Regions from separate parts of the Homo sapiens genome. Here all the other regions are linked to region 1. Evidence: promoter capture Hi-C in 16 types of primary human blood cells and fetal thymus (Javierre and others, 2016). All regions are on one chromosome and are shown on one strand. The core of a region is centred on a gene start or on the middle of the fragment in contact, and the rest is flanking DNA. Distances in the headings are between cores, read along the strand shown. Region 1 holds the start of RBM47-AS1 (RBM47 antisense RNA 1). Region 2 overlaps NSUN7 (NOP2/Sun RNA methyltransferase family member 7). Region 3 overlaps APBB2 (amyloid beta precursor protein binding family B member 2). Region 4 overlaps APBB2 (amyloid beta precursor protein binding family B member 2). Region 5 overlaps APBB2 (amyloid beta precursor protein binding family B member 2). Region 6 holds the start of NSUN7 (NOP2/Sun RNA methyltransferase family member 7). Region 7 overlaps NSUN7 (NOP2/Sun RNA methyltransferase family member 7).

What was found. Contacts are between HindIII fragments. The CHiCAGO score rates a contact against its expected background, and 5 or more counts as called.
Region 2: a contact is called between a fragment that was not itself captured here and the fragment with the promoter of RBM47-AS1 in region 1, in 1 of 17 cell types (neutrophils). The highest score is 5.9, in neutrophils.
Region 3: a contact is called between a fragment that was not itself captured here and the fragment with the promoter of RBM47-AS1 in region 1, in 1 of 17 cell types (neutrophils). The highest score is 5.3, in neutrophils.
Region 4: a contact is called between a fragment that was not itself captured here and the fragment with the promoter of RBM47-AS1 in region 1, in 1 of 17 cell types (neutrophils). The highest score is 6.2, in neutrophils.
Region 5: a contact is called between a fragment that was not itself captured here and the fragment with the promoter of RBM47-AS1 in region 1, in 1 of 17 cell types (neutrophils). The highest score is 12.6, in neutrophils.
Region 6: a contact is called between the fragment with the promoter of NSUN7 here and the fragment with the promoter of RBM47-AS1 in region 1, in 2 of 17 cell types (neutrophils and total CD4 T cells). The highest score is 14.9, in neutrophils.
Region 7: a contact is called between a fragment that was not itself captured here and the fragment with the promoter of RBM47-AS1 in region 1, in 1 of 17 cell types (neutrophils). The highest score is 7.3, in neutrophils.

The regions. Positions count from the first base shown.
Region 1 is chr4:40,424,443-40,427,731 of GRCh38, forward strand. RBM47-AS1 (RBM47 antisense RNA 1) reads left to right here and starts at 1,691. Exons shown (of 2, transcript NR_199039.1): 1 at 1,691-1,740; 2 at 2,346-3,140. It overlaps RBM47 (RNA binding motif protein 47), which reads right to left. Exons shown (of 7, transcript NM_001098634.2): 7 at 1-1,701. The coding sequence ends at 1,462. RefSeq lists an enhancer at 980-2,179. The HindIII fragment of the contact is 3,876 bases long and covers 1-2,786 here.
Region 2 is chr4:40,796,552-40,799,805 of GRCh38, forward strand. NSUN7 (NOP2/Sun RNA methyltransferase family member 7) reads left to right here. Exons shown (of 12, transcript NM_024677.6): 10 at 2,236-2,353. Among named protein-coding and RNA genes, the nearest start is that of NSUN7, 48 kb to the left of the region's middle. The HindIII fragment of the contact is 1,275 bases long and covers 804-2,078 here.
Region 3 is chr4:40,884,841-40,888,334 of GRCh38, forward strand. All of the region lies in intron 12 of APBB2 (amyloid beta precursor protein binding family B member 2), which reads right to left. Among named protein-coding and RNA genes, the nearest start is that of NSUN7, 140 kb to the left of the region's middle. The HindIII fragment of the contact is 6,616 bases long and covers 1-3,494 here.
Region 4 is chr4:40,915,048-40,918,386 of GRCh38, forward strand. All of the region lies in intron 10 of APBB2 (amyloid beta precursor protein binding family B member 2), which reads right to left. Among named protein-coding and RNA genes, the nearest start is that of NSUN7, 170 kb to the left of the region's middle. The HindIII fragment of the contact is 2,897 bases long and covers 1-2,706 here.
Region 5 is chr4:40,845,788-40,849,172 of GRCh38, forward strand. The region is part of intron 12 of APBB2 (amyloid beta precursor protein binding family B member 2); the gene reads right to left. Among named protein-coding and RNA genes, the nearest start is that of NSUN7, 98 kb to the left of the region's middle. The HindIII fragment of the contact is 8,965 bases long and covers 1-3,385 here.
Region 6 is chr4:40,748,032-40,751,403 of GRCh38, forward strand. NSUN7 (NOP2/Sun RNA methyltransferase family member 7) reads left to right here and starts at 1,924. Exons shown (of 12, transcript NM_024677.6): 1 at 1,924-2,269; 2 at 2,572-2,960. The coding sequence starts at 2,663. The HindIII fragment of the contact is 13,723 bases long and covers 1-3,372 here.
Region 7 is chr4:40,774,460-40,777,592 of GRCh38, forward strand. It overlaps NSUN7 (NOP2/Sun RNA methyltransferase family member 7), which reads left to right. Exons shown (of 12, transcript NM_024677.6): 6 at 308-491; 7 at 1,590-1,800. Among named protein-coding and RNA genes, the nearest start is that of NSUN7, 26 kb to the left of the region's middle. The HindIII fragment of the contact is 8,749 bases long and covers 1-3,133 here.

The sequences.
Region 1 (3,289 bases), core at 441-2,940:
TAACTTCCTAATAAAACAAACCTTTTTAATAACATTGAAATAAAATGGTTTCATTTTGCATTAAACTACATACCATGAACTTCTCCAACATAAAAGGACTAAAAACAAGCATTAGAAGATATTTACAAACTATCTTTAAACTTCTACAGGTCTCTCCTCCTCCTCCTGGATGTGCACACCCCAATCCAGTTCACCCATCAAGTGCACAGCAAAGGAAGAGAGGCCCATTTAATAAACATAATGTTTCCAACACCCTTGAGGACCATGGACAGTTTTGCAAGAAACATGGTAAGGCAACTAGAAGCATAACTTTCTGCTGAAAAGAGTCTCTGGGGGTCTTGTCTACGATAACATACATTCTTTGTCCCTACAAACTCATACTTCAAAAATGAATAAAAGCATTAGAAATGGCATTAAAGTTTTACATTGGGCAATTAAATAGCTATGCAAAGGTGTCTTATGCAACTCGATTAAAACCTTGTGCTTACTCTGCTACTGAAAATAGCACACGTAGAAGACAATACTTCCCCAACCAAACAAAAAAAAAAACAAAAAACAACGAAACAACAAACCCCAACAAAAACCCAGGAAGAAGTATAAAAGCCACCAGCTCCTCTATCAGAGCTACTTATCAGTCCTAGGCTTGCCAAACATTGCGGTGGGATTGGGAATCTGGGGAGGAGGGGACAGGGTGAGAGATGTGGGAGTGGGGGCATGTTTAAGGCTAAGGCACATGGAGAATGAGCCCCGGCTAACGGTGGCAAAGGAGAGCTTTCCAGTGTTTGGACTCAGAAGTGCGGCAAGTCTTTTCAATGTTGGCTTAAGGAGAGATCCAGTGTTTAATTTCTTTTAAAAAATAGTACCGCCATGATGATACATGGTAACACCATCAACCCTTAATGCCAGCAGAAATACAGAGGTTTTACTCATTTTAAAATTGCACTTTCCAGTATAACCTTTAAAATAATGCTTTATGTAGTATTTTTAAGCACTACTGTTTGTATCTTTAAATATTGTATATATTTTTCAAAATAGTTCCCTAGCTCCTCAAGTGTGCTTTTTTAATATATAGTTGATATATTATTGAAGGTACTACAAAATAGAAATCTCTGGAGTGCAGAAGTTAAGAAAATAACCTTCATACTGAAAATATATCCTTAAAAAAACAACAACAAAAACCTCTATACAAATGTAGTACAGCATACAAATTTTTAAAAGATGGAATGAAGGCACGAACCATTGCAAGTCTTTTGGAAATGTATGAACGTAGGCATGCTAAGTTGAAAATAGTCTTAAAAAACTAGTGAAAACTTCATGTATATAAAATAATTCAGAAATAAATCTGCTAACATTCTTCACTTTCAGGTTGCATGTGTGAATCCAACATGTTCCTTCTTCATAAATAGTCAAGCGTTCCTTCAGTGGTGTTTGTGTGGTCTGTCTTCGTGCTGGTCACCAGCCTCAGTATGTCTGGTAGACGTCGGGGATGGGGACCTGAATGGCAGCAGCAGGGAAGGCCTGAGGTATGTAGCCTGCGTATCCTCCATACATGGCGGCCGCGGCTGCCGCGTTCTTCTGTAGTGTGGCGATCGTGGCTGTAGCTGGAGCAGCAAATGGCACGTAACTGGCCCCGTAGATCCCGGCAGTAGGAATTCTCTGAACGTTTGGAGCCACCGTGTATACTGGAGTTATTGGGCGGCCCTGAGGAGAAGAGACAAAAAGGAGCCTTCCTGAACACGTGTATGTACCTATCATCCATTCATTCAACAAGCCTCTCCCAGAAGACGGGAATACAAAGACACAAAAGCAAGGGAGAGAAAGGCAGAGGGGCGGGCAAACAGCAATTATTGTAAGCAAGTGGGAGAAGAGCCACTGAAGAGGTAAGGTGGAGCTGCATCCTCAAACTCAGTGATGCCACCTTGTGAAAGTGAGAGGCCTGGAAGGCTGAGGGAAAGGTGAAATACAGTTGCCCCTCAGTATCCTCACAGGTGATTGGCTCTAGGACCTCCGTGGATACCAAAATCCTCAGATGCTCGAGTCCCTGAGAGAAAATGGCGTATTTGCATTTAACCTATGCACATCCTCCTGTATACTGTAAAAAAATTTTTTTTCATAGAGACAAGGTCTCACTATGTTGCCCAGGGCTGGTCTTGAACTCCTGGCCTCAAGCAATCCTCCTGTCTCAGCCTCCCAAAGTCTTGGGACCCATACACTTTAAAAATAATCTCTAGATCACTTATAATACCTAATATGATGCAAATGTTATGTAAATAGTTGTTATATCGTATTTTGACATTTGTATTTTTTTATTGTTGTATTGTTATTTTTTATTGTCTTTATTCAAGCCACGGTTGGTTGAATCCAGATGCAGAAACTGCGGATAAGGAGGACCTTCTCTGTACTGTATTCCGGAATCTTCTACTTACCATTCCACTCAATCAGTCTATGCCCCAGAGTGAGCTAGAGAAGGCAGCGGAGAATCTACCATCCACACAATTGATTTCACAGTAATTAAAAATCAGTGTTTTTCCTTAAACATGGCCTCTAGATACATGCCAGCTGCCTCAACTCATACTTAACTGATGGAATATGATCTGTCTCAGAGACAGAGAGAGGAACAGACTGTGTCAACTTAGAGAAACCAAATATACTGATCTCCAAAGGGACAGCTTCTTAAGCTGTGACCTTAAAAAATTGTGACCATACACAATTTTCAGCCAATGTGATGGTTTCCATCACCTCCCACCTAAGAGATGACACCATTAATGTATACAAATTGTTGTAGAAGCTTAGAGAAAGAACCAACTAATGGGGAAGTTGGAGAAAATGTCTCAGCAGCGGGGATATTCGAGCTGAGTTTTGAAGGATAAAGAGCAGTTTCCAAATGAGGAAGAAGTGGGCAAGGACAAGCTAAGTAAAGTTGCCTGAACTGTTGACGGCCACCACTGGCTCTAGAAAAGCCCCTGCTACTTCCTTCTGTCTACTTGAAAGTGCAACATAAGATGTTTTCAGAACAAACAGGAGTATGAATGGGAAGACTGTGGTTCAGTATTTCCCAAAGTGTTTGCCATGGAACTAGTTCTGTGAGATGCTTCATTGAAAAGAGATTCTGAATAAAATAAAACATTCATTTAACAAAATATTTGGTGCACCTCATGAGCCATAGAATGCCTGGTAGTAAATGCTGGTATGGTCTCCCTATATGTTAATACATCTTCAAAATAAACAATTCAGCATATGTGAAATGGTGAATTAAAATAATTATTTCTTCCTGGATTTTTATAAAGGA
Region 2 (3,254 bases), core at 191-2,690, 370 kb after region 1:
CCCAGGAGTTGGAGGCTGCAGTGAGCCATGATCACCTCACTGCACTCCAGCCTAGGCAACAGAGCAAGACCCCATCTATTAAAAAAATACAAATAAATCAAGTTATAAGAAACATGTCTCCTTATATCCTTTACACCTATTAATGACAATTAACTCAAGAGGCCCCGACTCCAGGTCATTCCTCATCTCCTATACTCTGGTCTCCATAACTCTCTTCATATCCCTTTGTCCACATCTCTCACTCTGTGCTCTCTAGAATTTATAGTTCCTCATCAACAAAAATTCCCTATATTTTAACTTCTTTGAATGTCCTCCCCCTTTGTAAAAAATTCCTGTAACTTGCCTTTCCCCTGGGAACAGTGTTTCCTCAGTCTTTCCTCTCCTTCTTTTTTGAGCTATTGCCATCACACGTTCACTCCTGCCACTAAACTGAAACGGTCCTGTGAAGATCGCCAGTGATCCCCATGCTGTTGTGTCAGTTGCCAGCCCTGGTCTACCTAGGTCTGTCTGTGGCAGTTGACAGAAGTGGTCGCTTCCTCTCCCTTCACACACTTCCATCACTTGTCTTCTAGGGCACCACCTTCCAGGCCTTCTCTCTGGCCTCCCCTTCTCTGTCTCCCTTACTGGGTCCTCTCTGTCTCAACACCCTGTTTAACATGGGAGTGTGCCACAGTCCATGCCTTGGATCTTTTTTCTCTGCCTATACTTATCCCTTGGTGATTGTATCTAGTCTTATGGTTTTAAACACCTCTATGTGACTCCCAAATCTGTATTTCCAGTCTAAACTTCCTCTTGAAACTCTAAGCTTATATTTCCAGCTGCCTTCTTGACATCTCCACTTAGGGACTCATAGTCATCTCAAAGCTAACATGTCTAAGGTGGAAGCTCTGATCTTCCTCCCGCCATACTTGTTCCTCCCACAGTACTGCCATTTCAGTTAATGATAGTTGTAGCCTTCCACCCGCTTAGGCTAAAAACGTTAGCATTATCCATGATTTCTCTTTCATACCCACAGCCAGTCTGTCAGTGTATGAGGTAGGTTCTACATTCAACTTATATCCAGAATATATCCAGCTACCTCCACCACTACCACGGTGTCCAAACCACCATCACCTCACACTTGAATTACTGTAATGACCTCCTAATTTCTCTGCCAGCCTCTGCCCCTGCCCTCTGCACTCTATTCTTAACACAGCAATTGGAGTGATCTTGTTAAAACCCATCATAACCCAAGTAAAAACCTAAGCCCTTCCGGTGGCCCACAAGTCCCTGTACTATCTGGGGCTCAGACCATGCTTTCTGACTTCGACTTACTACTCTCTCTTCATTCCCTCTGCTCTGATCAAACCGGCCCCTTCACTTTCCTGGAACATACCAGCACCATGTTGACTTCAGGCCTTTACACTGGCTGTTCCTTTACCTTAGAATGCTTTTCTCTAAATAGCTCTGTGGCTGGTTCCTTATCTCCATCTAGTCTACCCACAGTTTGCCATCTCAACAATGCTTTCTCTCACTGCTCTATTTCACACTATTTCTCCTGGAACTCTCTATCCCTCACCCGGCTCTGCTTTTCTCCATAGCATTGATCACTTAACAGTACTATATAGTTTTCCTATTTATCTCTGTCTTACTGTCTTTCTCCTCTACTAGAAAGTTAGCTCCACAGGGGCAAGGATTTTTGTTTGTGTTATTGTATCCCAAAGCCTAGAACAGTGCCTGTCTGGCAGGTGGTAGGTGCTCAATAAGTATGAATCAATGAGTGAATTGCAGGTGGTAGTATTACCTCATTTTACGGATGAAAAATTTAAGACTTTAAGTAATTTGCCCAGGTTCATACAGCAGTAAGTGACAGAACTGGGATTCACCTCTAAGTCTGTCTGTTTCTAGAGTCCTTTAAACTATTTAGGCAATATCGCTTGTAGAAGAATGGGCAGAAGTATCAAGTTCATGGTAACCTGCAGTATTTATTTATTTGTGTTTATAACTAAGTTGGCCTCATTTTTTGTTGAATTTTCAATTTCCATACAATCCAGTTAGAGTGACTTTACTTACTGGCCACAGACTAAATTACTAAGACAAGCTTTTACTTTAAAGGGGAGCCATTCAAGCATCTGGGGAAATTATTCTCATCAAAACCATGTGGTATTAGTATCAAATAGATGTTTGGAAACATAGCACATTTGTATAGGATTGTTAATATAGTTGTTACAGTCATTGCATCTTCTTCTAATATAGTTACTAAAGCTCAAGCAGTTGTTTACTGCACATGTTCAGTTTTTCCAGAAGAAAATGAAGCTGTTGTTAAGAAAGCACTGGAATTTCAAGACCTTGGGAATAAAGGACAACCTTACAGGTAAGAAAAGGAAGGATTCTTCTAAACAACTCAAACAAATATTTTTTAAAAGGAAAAATATTATTTTCTAAGTTGTATAAAGACATTCTACTTTTTAAAATTATACTTTAGTATGATAAAATTGCCTGACTTCTTACAAATTTAACCAAGATTCCATAGGGCCTTTTTCTTTTTTTTTTTTTTTTTTTTTTTTTTTTTAAAGATGGAATCTTGCTCTGTCATCCAGGCTGGAGTGCAGTGGCACCATTTCGATTCACTACAAACTCCGCCTCCCAGGTTCAAGCAATTCTCCTGCCTCAGCCTCCCAAGTGGCTGGGATTACAGGCAAGTGCCACCACGCCAGGCTAATTTTTGTATTTTTAGTAGAGATGGGGGTTTTACCGTATTGGCCAGGCTGCTCTCAAACTCCTGACCTCAGGTAATCCACCTGCCTTGGCCTCCCAAAGTGCTGGGATTTAAGAAATGATATGGCTGGCCTGGTGCGGTGGCTCACACCTGTAATCCCAGCACTTTGGGAGGCTGAGGTGGGCACATACCTTTACCTCAGGTGTTCAAGACCAGCCTGGGCAACATGGTGAAACCCTGTGTGTTTAAAAAAAAAAAAAAAGAATATGATATGGCAAACGTGGAGGAATATTGATTTTATTTTAGGCAAGCCATGATTAATGATTAATCTATAGCATAAAAGACACAAGTAATATAAAGACAGAATCCATAATTCTATATTGGTTTGAGATTTGAGCTCAAATTGGAGAGTACATATATTGAAGATGTTTATAACTACTTGTTGGGGATGCTGCCAAAAGAAATTATGCATTACCTAGGGAATTATACCAAGAATCACTTCTTAGTACCCCAAAGTGGTAGAATTTAGAGTTGAAAGCAATATTACATGTCATTT
Region 3 (3,494 bases), core at 828-3,327, 460 kb after region 1:
TATGAAAAAAAATTCGGTACAGTGGACACTATATTCTTTAGACAAAAGTTCCTGAGATCATAATCAGATAGAACAATCAAGTCAAAGATAACCTCATTTGGAAATTTATGAATAATCTATGACACAGAAAGATTTTATTAAAAGTTGTTCATCAAAACCAGAAAAGAAAGGTATTAAACACCTTCAAGGAAGAGAAGTTTGGCTACACAATCTGTAAGCATAAGCAACATCACAGGGTAAACACTGAACCTGAATAAGAGAGCACTGTTTAAAAAGCACTGCACACATCATGACTGTTGATGGTTGTGTGAGAAAACATTTTAAATGGTCCATTTTCAAGGCATGATAAATCTAAGTCCTGGCAGCCAGGCTGCAAATGTAACAAACCACATGGCTCATGCACCTAGAAAGTCACAATAAGCTAACAGAATGTAGAGGAGGGGTCAGCCCATTAAAGGGAAGAAAGTTTTCTTATTGGGAAATGAAAATTAAGCGGGGAAGGGAATGAGGTATAACCTTATAAGGGGGATAATGAAACTTAGGTAATGTCCAGGAAGATTGTAGCCCCATAGTACTCGGCCAGTGAGGAATTGGGGGAGGGACTGGCGTGCTAGGAGATAAATTACCTGTTGTGACTGTCCCAGGTGTGCCTGCCCACCAGATACCCGATCTCGCAAGACTGTTATTAAAAAGTCTCACTTTCACTGTTCTTCGTGCCTCTAAGTCCATTCTTGGGGTTTGGATGGGTGAGTGTGTTTCTCATAGTTGCCATTCATTATGAAGAAATTTTATCTTCATTAGAGCAGGCCCAATGGGGTCTCCACTTATAATATTCATTAAAAGTAATTCCAATTTTTCTTAATAATCAAAAATAGCAGTTTAGTGTTGCCACGAATTTAAATGAATGAGTTTACTAATGACAGCAATATTTCCTGAAGTGTGTTCCATGTGATTGTGTTTCCACCGAGGAAACGGTCCAGCCAAGCCTGGGAAACGCTTTCTTGCAGAGTCCTAGTGCATCTCAGCGTAGGAAAACCTCTGAGAGGGCCCAGTGTACTTGGTTTAACTCAGTTTCCCAAGTGACTATAGAATCTTTTTTTTTTTCTCAAGGGAAAACCGTGGATTAATCACTGATAGGGAAGCCTCTTGGAAACATCCCATTTACGGGGTCTGAAACCCTCTGACAATATCCATTTTCCTTTCTTGTGGGAAATGGCTGAGATGAGCAGACTATAGGGCTCATTGGCGAAGTACACAAGGATCTCTGTGCCCCTACCCAGAAGATAAGCCTCCATCAACCACGAGGCAAGAGGGGAGTCCCTGTTCCAAGTTCCCTGTGTTCAGAAATTATGTTTTGGCTGGGCGCAGTGGCCCACGCCTGTAATCCCGGCACTTTGGGAGGCCGAGGCATGTAGAGCACCTGAGGTCAGGAGTTCAAGACCAGCCTGGCCAACATGGTGAAACCCTGTCTCTACTAAAAATACAAAAAATTGGCCGGGCGTGGTGGCGGGCGCCTGTAGTCCCAGCTACTTGGGAGGCTGAGGCAGAAGAACCGCTTGAAACCGGGGGGCAAAGGTTGCAGTGAATTGAGATTGCACCATTGCACTCCAGCCTGGGGAACAACAGTGAAACTCCATCTCAAAAAGAGAAAAAAAAAACAAAAGAAATTATGTTTGCTTGGCTTTGGTACTTCTGTAAAAGAATAAGGAGGAAGGTGCTCGCCAGGGTCTGAGTGAATAAGAAGAACGCTGAGGCCGGAAGTTAGCACAGGTCCCTGAAACTGGGTAGGGACATCCCTCCAAACTCACCTTTGAGACAGTAGCCTGGCAGGCCCACAGAGACAAGATGAAAGGGAGCATTCGGTCATTGGCCTCAGTCGCCAAGGGCAGAAATGCCAGTTCTAAGGCCCAGTGCACACACCTGCGTACGTCCTCCTTTGCACAGCAGGCAGGAGCAAAGCAGGCCAACCTGGGTGCTCCTGGGGCTGAACTAGATTGGAAAGACAAAGCTCATGAAACCCCTTGCCCCAGCCTCCATCTCCAGGGGCCGTGACATTTACCTCACTGATCAAAGGGAACAAAACTCAACTATGGCCAAGAAAGAGGAGGCAGCCCTCACTTTGCCAGGCAATAAAGCAAATGGGCCCCAAGAAACACCGTAATAAAGACAGACATGGCTCTCAACAAGACAAAGCCTTCAGCATAGTTGTGCGACAACCAAAACCCCACAGAAGACTGGTATCAGATGTGACTCAACTCCTTGTGCTGTTCATAGTAAGAGGTCTCTCCAACTCAACCCTGGGGGGCTCAGTGGGGGTGTCATAGCCAATCACCTCCTCATGCAAAGTAAACTCATTCCCGAAGGAATTTCTTCCAAGTAAATCAAAACCACTTGAAAGCCTTAAGAAAATGTCACATCCAAAATACTTTGATAATTTCTGAAATTACGTGGCTCAGGGAAGCACTCTGGATTTGCAGAAAGATTTTGCGCCCTTCATGTCTGGTATAATACACACTTCTCTTATTCATTTTAACCACATCAAGAAATCCCTGAAGAGATTCCACTTTCTCAGCAAGGAAAGTTACAAAAGAGAATGTGAAATGGGCTTCTTTTTCGCAAGCAAAAATGTTTTATTCATGCAAAGTGAAAAGCCCTTTCCTTTGCAACATTACAAATTGAATTTGCTCTTGTAAATTGCTGTTAAGGAAAAAAAAAGGAATCAAAAGCAAAGGAAAGTAAAAAAAGCAGGAGTACAAAGACCCCTTCTTCTGGGGAATGGAAACTCAGGGGACCAATGGGGAGAAACAGAACCTTTCACTGGCAAACACACTTTTAAAATTTACCGTTTCCATGCCAATCCAGCTGAAGGCAGCCACAACCCCATGATCTTGCTGAGGTCCTGCTAGCTATGTGGAACCCTCCCATGATCTCGCTGAGGTCCTGCTAGCTATGTGGAACCCTGAGCGTATTTCGAAATTACACTCATCTGCTGACACTGAGTGAGAATAAGAAGTGATTTAAAAACATGAGTAATACAGCCCACGTTTCAAAAACATAACCAAGGCAATGTAACCTAATTCACACTGATTTCATCAGGGAGTAGGAAGCTCTTCCTGCTTTGTAGGACAACTGAACTCATTAGGGTCTGGAACAGCCGCTCATCCTCTAGATCACGTGATCAAGCGTACTTCAAGTCTCCCTGCGGTCTGACTCCTCTCCGACCTCCACTGTCTTTAAAAGGAAGCCATGTCATTAGCTGCATCTGCTAGCGTGTGTTTAAAAATCAAGGGCTAACATTCATTAAGCATCTGTCATGTCCCTATCACTGAACCGATTACTGTATACACATGCACATGCACATATACGTATGTGTTGTGGTCCTTATTATGATCCTCACTTCACAGATGAGAGAACTGAGGCTCAGAGAACTTGAATAATTTTGTCAACTGGAGTTTGAATCATTTGTTTCCTTCCAGACATGTAGCATGTGGCCT
Region 4 (3,339 bases), core at 8-2,507, 490 kb after region 1:
TCAGGACATTGCCTGCTGTGAAATACCTCTCAAACACTTTATCCGACTCTTGTCCCCACTGGTTATTCCTTTGGCTTAAAGGCACAGTGGCCTCCAGGCCAATCCTTCATCCACTAAGGACTCATCACCATGGGCTCCCCCCACCCTCCCAATCTACCTGCTTCCCTCTCTCATCTCGTACTCAGTGTCACCTTCTGGGAAGCCTCCCTGATTACTTAAAGCTGCTACTCCTCCTGGCACTCGCTCACACTCTTCCCTGCTGTTTTTCTCCATAGTAAGTCTTTTCACCTGATGTACTTTTATTCCACTTGTGTGGTTCTCTCTCCACACCCTGGAATGTACGTTACACAAAGGCAGGGACTTGGTCTGCAGTATCCTCAGCCCCGGAGCGCAGAGCCTGATCCTAGTGAGTGTTAAATGAATGTATATCTGCGAAGTTGGCCTTAAAACAATACCTGGTACTCAGTAAAAGTTACTGATAACTATCTTCAGGGCTAATTTCACTTTTCACTGTTGTTTTCTAAGAAAGGTTTTACTGTACCAGTCACCAAGAAATGAAAAGTCTGCAACTTTTTGCAAAGTGTCTGAAATGAACTCAGTGAGTTCATAACGTGCAAAGACCTACAAAGACTTCAATTAAAAGCACGGCTGTTCCCAACCCCAGAGAGAAGATTTATGAAGTCTGAGCTCTCCAGGCTGACTCCTGGGATTCTGCACTGTGCTCTCGGGGGAGGAGCATTTAACCACAGCATGGAGACCCAGAACACAAGGGCTCTGGGACCCCGGAACCCGGCCATCTCATTTCACGAATGAGTAAATCCAAGTCCTGAGAGCATTAGCCAGAGTTGTGACTAATAAGAAGGAAGCTCTGCCTTGAGGGAGTGGAGCTGGCACTGCAGGGTCCTGGGCCCTGTGTGAGTGAAGTCTGTCTTTAAAGAGTTTCTTTGGTAACTGCCCAACACTCAGGGAAATGGTCCCTGACCGACTGGAACTCAGTGTGTAATGCAAAGGTGAAGTAAATACAAAGAAACTCTCTGCCAAGATAGGCATGGTAATTGCAGAAGAGAAAACATTTTAGGTAGTTGTTCTAAAGAATTTGCTGTAAATTAGATATGATGAATTCCTACGGGGAGGAATGTATGTGCACAGAGCTGAGACATGAAAAAGGAGACCACAGTCAGCCACAGACTGGAATTAAGGCTAGAAACCTAACCCCAGAGCTGAGAAGGTATCTGAGGAGGAGACATCTCTCAGGCTAGACCTGAAGACAGACAGACAGACAGACAGACAGAATGAAGTGCTCCCTTGTGGCTTCTGCTCACAAGAAGGCAAAAAGTGGATGCTGTCATTGGCAAGCCTGTTCCAGAAGCATGTGTCATGTTCCTAAGATAGTCACTTCCCACCCGTTCTGCACATGGAGATTGGCAACTGTTCCTCAGTATTGGCTGAGCTGCGATTTTCAAAATGCAAGAAGATATGTTTCCCTTTGAAAGAAACAATTTGGCCCATGTAGACTTATGTGGTTGGATTTTGTTCCAAGTAGGTAACATACCCGTGTCTCTGTGCAATCATGTCTTACCCTGTGTGTACGTGGCCACCAGGAAAGACAGACAGGGAGAAACTGAAGGAAGCCCAGGAGGTCCAGAAACTAGAAACTATTCTGAGAGCGAGCATGACTGACCGACCCTGGTGATCACACAAAAACAAGGAGGGACCCAGAGGATGTTGCGAGGCAATGGATTCCCAAAATTCCAAGAGAAGCAACCGCAGGTGAGATCCTGTTGTGAAGCCTTGAGATGGTGACGGGGCAGAAGTATGCAGTGAACGGGAGACCTGAGTGTGGAGTCTGTGGTGGGGAAGGTCAGAGGGAAGAGGGGAGGACTTCGTATCATGCAGCCTACACAGCCTGCAGGCCATGATACCACGTCCCTGGGCTCTGCTGCACCGCAGACTTCTGCAGGCTTCCTCAAGTGGCCAGGGCTCTCACTCAGGGTCAAGTCAGGGCGGCAACTCCTGTGCTGTGTTGACTGCGGCTCATTACTGCCACCTGTGGGACAACTGGGACTGTCTTCTGAATGGACCTGGGGTGGGTCTAGTGATTTGAGGCCCTGCAGAAGTTTATTGATCCCAAATCTGAACTCCAACTGCAGATGGTAGCTCATCTCTTCACCTTCATATTCTGCTATTCTCTAAGTGAACTCCAGCTCCCCAGCTAGCCCCAGAACCTGGCTTTTAGAGCTGAACTCCAAGATTTCTTGTCTTCAGCTTGATGGATGAGGCCCATCAAAGAAAGGGAAGTGACTTGCCCAAGGTCTCCCGGGCTGGAAGCAGCAGAGACGGGTGAACAGTGGGGTCCTCTGTCCACAGTACTCATCCCACCACCTGCTACGGTCCCCTGACAAGCCACTGAGGTCAGGGTCCCCATGTGTATTTTTTTCATATCCCACAATACCTAGGTAAGTGCTAAGCAGATAACCAGTACTTAAGATCTCTCAATGAATTTTTTTCATCCAATGAGAAAATTTAGACTATCCAGAGAAAAAAACACCAAAAATAATTAAAGCAACATGAGTTCTGTGAATTATAAAGGTAGAGGGAGTTGAGGTCAATTTTATCAGAGAGGGAATGGGTTATCTTAAAGTATTTGAATGAGTTGGGAAAATATCAACCAAGAGTTGCCCTTCTACAGGATATCAAAGAAGTAGAAGCTTTGGAATGATGAGGAGTATTTGCAGAACAGTAATGGTGAACTTCTTAAGAAAAAGAGATGTTAAAACAAGGAATCCTCTACCAAGGGTGCTGTGTGCTTTTTATCCACAGGGCAAAGGTTTAAAAACAGAGTGATCAGTTAACTCTCCCTATGAACCTTCTTGTTTTAACAGAGATGAATGGACCAGAGACTCAGGTTTATTCTGTATCTAGGTTATAATTCCACATGCAAAACGCAATCTCTGTGAAACTTATTCCATGACAATGCAATACAGCTTCCCATTTCTCACATTGCTTTTGAAGGAGAGGATGGCAGTTCACACTTTAGCACATAAAACAGAACACAATATTATGAATATTTTCACTTATTTACAATGTGACGTATCCCAGTGCTGGCCAAACCACTCTATCATAATTCTATGCAGCTTAATCTAGTGGGAAAGGGACTAGCTTGAACTAGCACATCCCCACACTGGCTAGTACACAGTTACTGAGCACTGGCCAAGCTCATCTCTACAGACATCTTTCAAAGAGAGAGGCCCACAAAGAACTCCATAGGAATGTGAAGGTGTTTTGCAGGCAATGCCACACCAACACATGCTTGAGTGCCACTGGGGAACCTCTGAGCTA
Region 5 (3,385 bases), core at 90-2,589, 420 kb after region 1:
TCTCTGTTGCATGCTTCTTTTTGATGTTTGTCTTTCATCACTGGCCATCTCTCTAGCCTTTTGAGCACACATCACACCATTATCCACAGGACAATGAAGTAAACACTGCAAAACTTTACATCATGAAAATTCTTGCACCAGCTCCTGAGTCTGACAGTTTATTTTTTCCCTCCAGCTTCAGGGGTGGGTAGGTGGGTGTGGGTGGGTGGGTGGGTGGGTGTGAGTGGGGTGTGTGTGTGTGTGTGTGTGTGTGTGTGTGTCATTTATCAGCTGTCTGCCCTTGGTCAGGGCCCTTAGCCTCTTTGTTTTTCAGTTTCTTCATCTGTGAAATGGGAATCATAGAGGCCTTCAGGTCCTGAGAGTGCCATAAAATTCCATTATTTAATCCATATAAAGCTCCTACAGGATGGCGGCTTGAGTATGGCCTTACAGTGCAGGCCAGGCCAATCACTATGTGAGAGAGGGAAGGGGAGCTCCACGAGGAGAAAGGAAAGGTTCCTGACCTGTTTTGGATCAAGGCCCTCGGATGAAAACACTCCAAAAAAAAAAAAAAAAAAAAAAGTGCACAGACTCACAATTTTATACACAATTTTGGAAGGGGGCAGAGCTGGAACAGTTCAGTGATTCTTGAAACTCAATCCCAGGTCCCTTTAGAATCTACATGCCGCAGGTGAAAGGCCTCTGAACTGAAATGAATACTGAATTTATGCAAATTTACCATCTGATTTCTGGCTGATATTTAGAGAATTCATCTCAGGGAAAGGTTCTATCCTTCCCAGGATCAACCGGTGACATGAACAACCGTCTCTGACCAAGTGTGCCTTCCTTTCCAAAGCAAGCTCCCCTCCCACCTCACTGTCCTGCCCAGCAGCGCCATGATGGGAAAGTTAGACTTCCAGCACTTAGAAGTGTAAAGCCAGGAGTTAAAGTGGTTGAGGTTATTGAAATTCAAGGCACATTATTCTAAACAAAGGACTTTCTCATGCCATTGGAGGGAAGACACAATAGTTACCAGCCTGCTTACTAATGAGGAGGAGGGAAAAAGGATATTTAAAAGCAACCAGGAAACGAGTATTTTTAAAAGTCCATCTTTGAAGACTTTAAGCAAGAATTAACGAGCTTCAGCTTTCATCTGTGCTATATCACAGATTAAAAAAAAAACAAAAAACCAAATGCAAAAATCTTGCATCTCTGAATATCTGAGAGAAGAATACACACACAAATTATAGTTAGTTATTAAGTGAGAGATAATTTACACCATGTTCCAGTTTCAACTTTAAAGTTTAGGGTATAATGAAAGGATAACGTTATATAAATTCTACCTGAACTGTGAAACCATGGGTTAGCTTCCTTTCTGAAAGCCAAGATGGTAAAACAAAAATAAAAAATACCAGGTCAGGCATGGTGGCTCACACTTGTAATCCCAGCACTTTGGGAGGTTGAGGCAGGTGGATTACTTGAGGCCAGGAGTTCAAGACCAGCCTGCCAACATGACGAAACCCTGTCTCTACTAAAAATACAAAAATTAGCCAGGCATGGTGGCGCACACCTGTAGTCCCAGCTACTCAGGAGGCTGAGACGTGAGAATCACTGCAACCCGGGAGGTGGAGGTTGCAGTGAGCTGAGATCGTGCCTCTGCACTCCTGCCTGGGTGACAGAGCAAGACCGTCTCAAAAAAATAAAACAACACGAAACACCTTGACACCAGAAGGCTCCTATCTGACAAAGCACAGGAACGCATAAGGATTTAGAACTGATTCTGAGCAGGGAAAATGACAGCACAGTGGTTTCCATGCCAGAATGCCATGAGGGTACAAACTCCTGGCAAGGTGCAGACAAGCCTCCTACTTAAAACCACGGTGAGCACCCAGCCACATGGAGGACCTCTTGTGGATATGGTGAATCACTTTCTGAATTTTCAAGGGGCTTTCTTTGTGCCAGTTCAAAGGAGTACTAGGGTAGATAACATGGAAAGCCAATACATATGGCCTTCATTTGAATTGTTTGTTGTTTTTGCTTGCTTTTTTTTTTTTTTAAGAGATGGGATCTCGCTCTGTTGCCCAGGCAGGAGTCCAGTAGCACGATCATAGCTTACTGCATCCTCAAACTACTTGGCTCAAGCAATCCTCCGGCCTCAACCTCCCAAGTAGCGGGGGCTATAGGTGTTTGCCATCATACCCGGCTAATTTTTTATTTGTTGTAGAAATGAGGTCTCACTATGTTGCAAAGGTTGGTCTCAAACTTTTGGGCTCAAGCAATCCACCCACCTCAGCTTCTCAAAAAAGTATTTGGATTACAGGCATGAGCCACTATGCCCAGTCCTGAATTTTGTTAACTTCCATCTAGATACAAGTATTTCTGGTATAATGTAAACTCAATAATATCTAAAGAAAAGCAGACACCAACCCTAGGAAGGCTGATTACCACTAACCAAGTAACAGTAGCGGCTCCTGGCTATGATTGCTTCTGTCTAGCCAGGCTCTATTCTTGCTGCGCACTGTCGCCAAGCCACACAATAACCTTGCAGGGGGAAGCATCACGACTCATTTTACAAATGAGGAATTGAAGGGTCAGAGAGTTTAAGTTGACTTGCTCCAAAGCCCACAGCTAGCAGGTGGTAGATCTGCAAACAGAACACAGGCCTGCTGGCTGGGCTCTTTCCTGCCGTGTAGCTCTGGGGCACCTAGCACCTGAGCCTGGCTCCCTCCCAGTTAATTGGCTCTGCTCAGGACCCCATCCCTCACTGGAGGTAGCCTCTGCTCTGCCTTTCTCTCTCTGTCCCCATTGGACTTTTGGTTCCACCACTGCTGGAGCTCGTGATGGTAATTAAGTGCTGTGTTTGGTTTAAATTACCTTCCTTTCATCATCTGCTCAGTAGCCACTTATTCCATGACTCCTCTGCTTACAATTCCCAACCCCCACCCGCCCCACCGCCGCAAACTCCCTGCCTCCAGCCACACTGGGACCGTTTTGCTCCGAAACATACAAGCCCGCCCCTGCCTGGGCTTGCTGATCGGCTGCTTGGTCTGCTTTTCCCCCAGGTCCTCCCCTCATCATCCTGATCATCACTGCCTCCAAAAGAACCCTGAGGATCCCCCAGTCATTGTCAACATTCACAGCCATCTGAAGCTACCCTATTTCCCTCTCTCCACCAAGAAAGTAAAGCTCATGCGAGCAAGAACCTTTCTGCCTGTTCACTTACCACTGTCTGGCACATAGTAGGCAATCAATCAATATTCTTGAATATGTGAATAAATACCTAAGTAGGGGAAAGAGTGAACTCCCTTCTTCCTGATCAGGTTGGTAAGAAGCTAAGGGAATGATGCCACAAACAGTAGGGAGTTGGCTGGATTCCTTTTTCTCCTGCTATTGCTCATCACAGACA
Region 6 (3,372 bases), core at 674-3,173, 320 kb after region 1:
GTGATATTTTGCTAGCATCTGGGAATAAAAAAGATATATAATAAAAATGAAAAGATAAAGATAAAACAAGACTATTTTAGAGTGTGTGTGTTGTGTGGATAGAAAGATGGCAGAAGGGGGGTAATGCAGGTATGTACACGAATCTTTATAACAAAAATGAAAAGGTGACAAAATACAAATATATCCATCTTTAATTTCTTGAGGGCAAGGTCTTTGATCATTTCTTTTTTTTTTGAGACGGAGTCTGGCTCTGTCACCCAGGCTGCAGTGCAGTGGCCCAATTTCGGCTCACTGCAACCTCCGCCTCTCGGGTTCATGCCATTCTCTGGCCTCAGCCTCCTGAGTAGCTGGGACTACAGGCGCCCGCCACCACGCCCGGCTAATTTTTTTGTATTTTTAGTAGAGACGGGGTTTCACCGTGTTAGCCAGGATGGTCTCGATCTCCTGACCTCGTGATCCGCCCGCCTCGACCTCCCAAAGTGCTGGGGTTACAGGCGTGAGCCACCGCGCCCGGTCAGGTGTCTGATCATTTCTATACATTCATTATTTTACTTGTAGGGCTGAACACAATGCCAGGGACACAGCAAGAATTTAATATATACTTGTTAAACGAACGAATGAATGCATGTATACATAAAATGTTACGGAATGTTTAACGTATTCCGGGGATAATGAAAGTGGGTGGATTTCTGAGAGAAGGGGTCAGGGTTAGAGTTCTGTACTGCTAATTTTTTCCCCATTATCCATTCTCTCCTTCTTCTACAGTAATAGTTCCCTTATTTTTAGCTGGACACATTTACCAGCCTCTTGGTTGCTGGGTATATGACTGAGTTCTGACCAATAAAATGTGAGCCAAAGTGATATGTGCACCTTTCAGGTCATTGAAAAATATGGGCTGCCCTCTCTTTCCCCTTCATCCTACTAACCACTGGCTGGAAATGGAAATGGCCTTAGCCTAAAGAAGGAAGGGCAAATCCCTAAGGAGGAAAGGCAGAGGTGGAATTAGGACCAGTTGTCTTTCAACTATACCAGAGTTTTTCAAACTGTGGTCTTTGGGCTGATTGCATCAGAATCGCCAGTTACCTGATAAAAATGCAAATTACTGGGTCTTAGCAACTCAAATCTCTAGGATGGGTTCCAAGGATTTTTTTTTAGCTGGAGGCGGTGGTTCACGCCTGAAATCCCAGCACTTTGGGAGGCCGAGGAGGGAGGACTCCTTGAGCCCAGGAATTCGAGACCACCCTGGGCAACATAATGGGAACCCTGTCTCTGTTATTAAAAAAAATTATTACAGACGGCGCAGTGGCTCACGCATGTAATCCCAGCACGTTGGGAGGCCAAGGCCGGCAGATCACTTGACGTCAGGAGTTCGAGACTAACTTGATCAACACGGTGAAACCCTGTCTCTACTAAAAATACAAAAATTAGCAGGGTGTGGTGGCGGGCGCCTGTAGTCCCAGCTACTCGGGAGGCTGAGGCATGAGAATCACGTGAACCCGGGAGGAGGAGGCTGCAGTGAACCGAGATTGCGCCACTGCACTCCAGCCTGGGCGACAGAGCGAGACCATGTCTCAAAAAAAAAATTATTACTATATTTTAAAAATATTTTAAAGAATGTGTAGTTTTAACAGGGACTTCAGGAACTTGTGAGTTAAAACCACGGAACTACGTCAGACTACCTCAAAAATATCCCCAAATGTTTATAAACAAAGCCAAGGGCACGCACTCAGGCCCGGTGAGGTCCAGGAACTGTGCAAGAGGCCTCTGGCTCGGAGGGGCTGAAACAGGTGTCTCCGCGCGCTGGGGGAAGAGCGACTCTCCCGGCAACAGGTAGCACCCGCCAAATCCCGCGGGAACGGCCCTCGCGCCGCGCCCCCTGCCCCACCTCCGCTCGCGGTTGCCATGAAGACCCGGTCCGGGAGCAGTCGACTGCCGGAGACTCGGGAGGCTGAGCTTTCCTCGGCCTGAGCCAGCCAGACCCCGGGCACCGCGCTCACCCCTCTTCGCCGCCACGTCCGCGAAGGCCTCACGCGCGAGGCCAGGCGAGGCCCCGAGGCGCCCACCACTTCACGACACCGGAGCGAACCGGGCGCCAGAGGCTGCGACCCCCCTGCCCCGAATCCTGCCGGTGGGAGTGGCTGCATTTGAACCAAACGGCCTTCGCGGGCAGCAGCCGTCGCCCCGCAGTCCCGGGGCTCCCAAGGGCCTGTGACCGACGCCGCCCTCCGCGTCTTCGTCCCCGAAGCCCCGGGAACCATCCGCCCTCGGGGTAAGGGAGGAGTCGGGGGAGCCGGTGACTGGGCTGTGGGGACGCGGACGGGGCTCCGGGGGCAGCTCTGCCCCCAGACTGGCTTGAGGGAAGCCGTCGGTCTCCTTGGGGCTCTTCTCCCTCCGCCGCTGCACCCCTCCTCGCTTTTTTTTTTTTTTTTGAGCGTCCCAGGCTCGAAGTCTGGGACACTCAGATGGGACGGGAAATGCTCCCTCTTAGTCTTTAAGGCCACAACGAAGGGGGCCACCCACAGGGGTGCTGCAGAAAGAGTGATTTACTGCAATCACCTTCTCTCTTCACAGAGACCATGCTGCAGATGCGAGGAAAGCCGTTTCCTGGAACATCGGAATTCTAACCCCAGGGTGAAGGACTCACGACAGGCGAGGGGCAGACATGCTGAATTCCACGGGCGAACTGGAGTTTTCGAACGAAGAAGATCCCGAGATCATCTCCCAACTCACTTCCCTGCCTCTGTCCGGTGGGAAAAGCTCAGCTGGTGTGCCCGAAAAAACGGGCTATCCGGACTCCGTTTATGTCATGGCAGCCAACATTTTTCAGGGTATTCGAATCGAAAAGTCGGCACAGAAAGTCTTAATCAAGTATGGGAATGAACCCCTGCGGTCCTTGTCCGAGTCTGAGGATCAGTCCTTTCAGCGTTTGTCTTATGAGCTGGCTTTCAGTGCCCTGAAATGTGAGTTGTGCCAGTCTGGAAGATCAACACTAAAAGAAAATAATAGCGAGAGAATTTGGGGAATGCAGCCCTCCTCCTCCCTTCCCCTCATTCACACCAGGTTTTGGTTTTAGGCATGTGCATATCTTTGGTTAATTGCAAGTGTCAAGGAATTAGGGTTCCCATGAAACTAGCTCTTCCAGCCCAGGATTGCAGATTTCCCCGTGCACTGTGTTTGTCCTTAGATCGGTGTAGTGCGCGGTCATTACATTCAACAAGGAAACAATTTATTCCAATGATCATTTCCCTCTCCCTGTATTTTTTTTTCCCTCGTAGACTTAGGGGTCTCGCTTTATTGTCTGGGCTGGTCTCAAACTCTGGACCTCAAGGAATCCTCCCTCTTCAGCTTCCCAAAGTGCTGGGATTACAGGCA
Region 7 (3,133 bases), core at 617-3,116, 350 kb after region 1:
CTTTTAAAATAATGTGATGAGAAGCATTACCTTTTTAAGAGGTGGGGGTGGCACATCTAGGGGAGTGATTAGGGAATCAGAGTTAAGTTCCAGAGCTTATGACCAAATTACCAAAGGTAATTACATAAATATGTTAACTTCTCTGCCTATAATTATCTTTTAGTTTATTGTTGGTTAAAATTGTTAGTTCCATTAGATGTAATGTATGAAGTGATATTTTTCTTTGTTACAGGAAAAAGGTGTTAGTGTTAAGGACGTTTTTAATGTATTATATTTGTAATTACAAGCTAATGTTGTATATTTACAGCCCTGAAGAAGTTTATAATAATTTGAAGAGAAGAGGCTATAATAAAGTCAAATCTGTATTGCATATTGATGATAAAGTCTTTGCTGTGGATCAACATTGCTATGATGTCTTAATTTTTCCATCTCATCTTAAAAATGATCTTATAAATATAGATCTTTTCAAAGATTACAAACTTATATTTCAGGTAAACTAATATTTACTTTCATTGTGATTCTCAACAATCCAACCTAGCCAAAGAACTTCTCCACTTAAAAATAAAACCTAACACTGTTTATATTTTTATAGATTATCAGGGAGGTTTATAAGGCCTAATTGTCACCTTGAATAAAATTAATACCTCTACAATCAGTGCATCTGGTTGGCGTCTTTGTCTCATGTGAATTTATAAAGAACATATTCTTCTCCCAGATTCCATGAATGGGAAGATTTGCATTGCTGGCAGCTGTAAGGTTCTACTTTTCTCCCCTAAAGGAGAATTCAAGAGAAAGTACAATGAGACCTTTTCTTCCTTCCCTTTCTGGGGAAGATGCTAGTGCCATCTTGCATATGAAAAAACAATTGTAATAGTTTTTCATAATTTCTTTAATATAGTCTTATAGCTTTGATTTGTAAGAGGTATATAAAGGCTATCAATATAGGAAGAGAATGTGAGGTATAATGTAGTTTCAACAGAACGAAAATAAAAGGTATAAAAAAGTAGTTTAAATTCATTTTTACATCCTTAGATTCCAATTATTGCCTCAGATATACCTTGATCTTCTAAGGTTTATCCCTTTTCCACATTCATATTCTTGGGCAGAATCTCTTACCATATCAAGCACTGAGATCAACTGCAGAAGCCCAACCTGTCAAGCCCCCTTTGATGAGCTTCTCAAATATATTAATTTTAATCTCTGTGAGCTAGTGGCAATTTAGGTGACAAGGTAATGGGGAAGAGAAAATGGAAGTAGTAGATGAGTGGGTTTTTGTGAAGGGGTAAGAATGGGAGTTAAGATAGGACATCATTAATCTGTTGACCATATTTTAGAGATTCTGGCATTGCTTTATACAAAACTTAGACAGTAACAGTCATAATTTAGGCTAAACAAAGTTAAGCTCTTTGTTTTAAACATCAGTTGTCTTTGTTAACTCTTTACTTAGACATATATTAAGATGTTAAAACTAAAATTGGTTAGGTCTCTAATATTACTATGAGGTACTTTCTTTTATGTAAAGCAAATAGAAGTCAGCTTATATTTCTAGCCATACCCTTTGAAATTCTAATCATACCATTATCTTACAGGACAAATCTCGAAGTCTTGCTGTCCATTCTGTAAAGGCTTTATTAAATATGGATGATGATGTCTTAATGGTCAATACAGGCTCATGGTACACAGTTTCCCACATGTCAATTTTAACAAATAATAATACCTCAAAAGTATTTGTGTGTGGAGTACAATCACAAGCTAAGGATCCTGACTTGAAGACCCTTTTCACAAAAATAGGATGTAAAAGTATGTAAAAATATTTCTTCATTTGGTGATTATTGTTCTGCAAGATTTTAGAAACGTTAAAAAGTTTTAATTTATTAGTTTTTTTGTAATGTAAAAGCTCTATATGTGAACTAATATCTTAAAATCCTTACTAATCTATGTCTTATCAGGCTGTCCTTGTTGCTTAATTTGGTTAAACAACTGTGGGTTAAATTAATTTCTTGGTACTTTGTAATACTGTTTGACATTTAGCTCACATAATTTGAGGCTCAAACATTTAAAGTAGAAATGTATCATTTAATAAATAAGAATGATTATCATTTAATAAATACTTAAATAAGTGCTTAAGTGACAAAGATAATATCTAGGACTAGAAGCTAAGTCTTTTTTTTTTTGAGATAAAGTCTTACTTTGTTGCCCAGGCTGGAGTGTACTGATATGATCACAGTTCACCACAGCCTCTACCTCCTGGGCTCAAGAGGTCCTCCAACCTCAGCCTCCCAAGTAGCTGTGACTACAGGCTCATGCCACTATGCGTGGCTAATTTTTCTAATTTTTGTAGAGCCAAGGTTTTGCAGTGTTGCTCAAGCTAATCTCAAACTCCTGGGCTCAAGTGATCCACCTGCCTGGGCATCCCAAAGTCCTGAGATTACAGAGGCGTGAGCTACCAGGCCTGGCCTAGGAGCTGTCTTTTAGGCTTCTTGTTTTTTAAAAATGTTTCCATTGGATCATTCTAACTAAAGATTACATTTTATTATAGGTTCAGCGAGGCTGAAAAACTAAGCAAAACTTTTAACAGATTCACAGGGATAGGGAGACAAAAAGTGGAATTCAGGATTTGACCAGGAGAGGTAGCCTGGTAAATACTCAGGATTTCACTTGGAGTCCCGAAGTACATCTTGGATAGTGATCAGTCCTCCAAAGAATTAGAACCCCCATTCCAGTCATCTTAATTCCCAATTAGATTAAGGTGATCTGGGATTGCTAGTGCCCAGTCTTAGCTGCCTGCCAGAAGCAAAAGTAAATTCCCTCTGGAGGAAAACAACATCATCCTACATTTCTAATTATCTTCTAATTTTTTTCATTTTTTTAAATTTTTTTTTATTTTTCTGAGATGGAGTCTCCCTCTTGTTGCCCAGGCGGGAGTGCAGTTGGCACCATCTTGGCTCACTGCAACCTCTGCCCCCCGGGTTCAAGCGATTCTCCTGCCTCAACCTCCTGAGCAGCTGGGATTACAGGTACTCGCCAACATGCCCCGCTAATTTTTGTATTTCACCATGTTGGCCAGGCTGGTCTCGAACTCCTGACCTCAGGTGATCCACCCATCTTGGCCTCCCAAAGTGCTAGGATTACA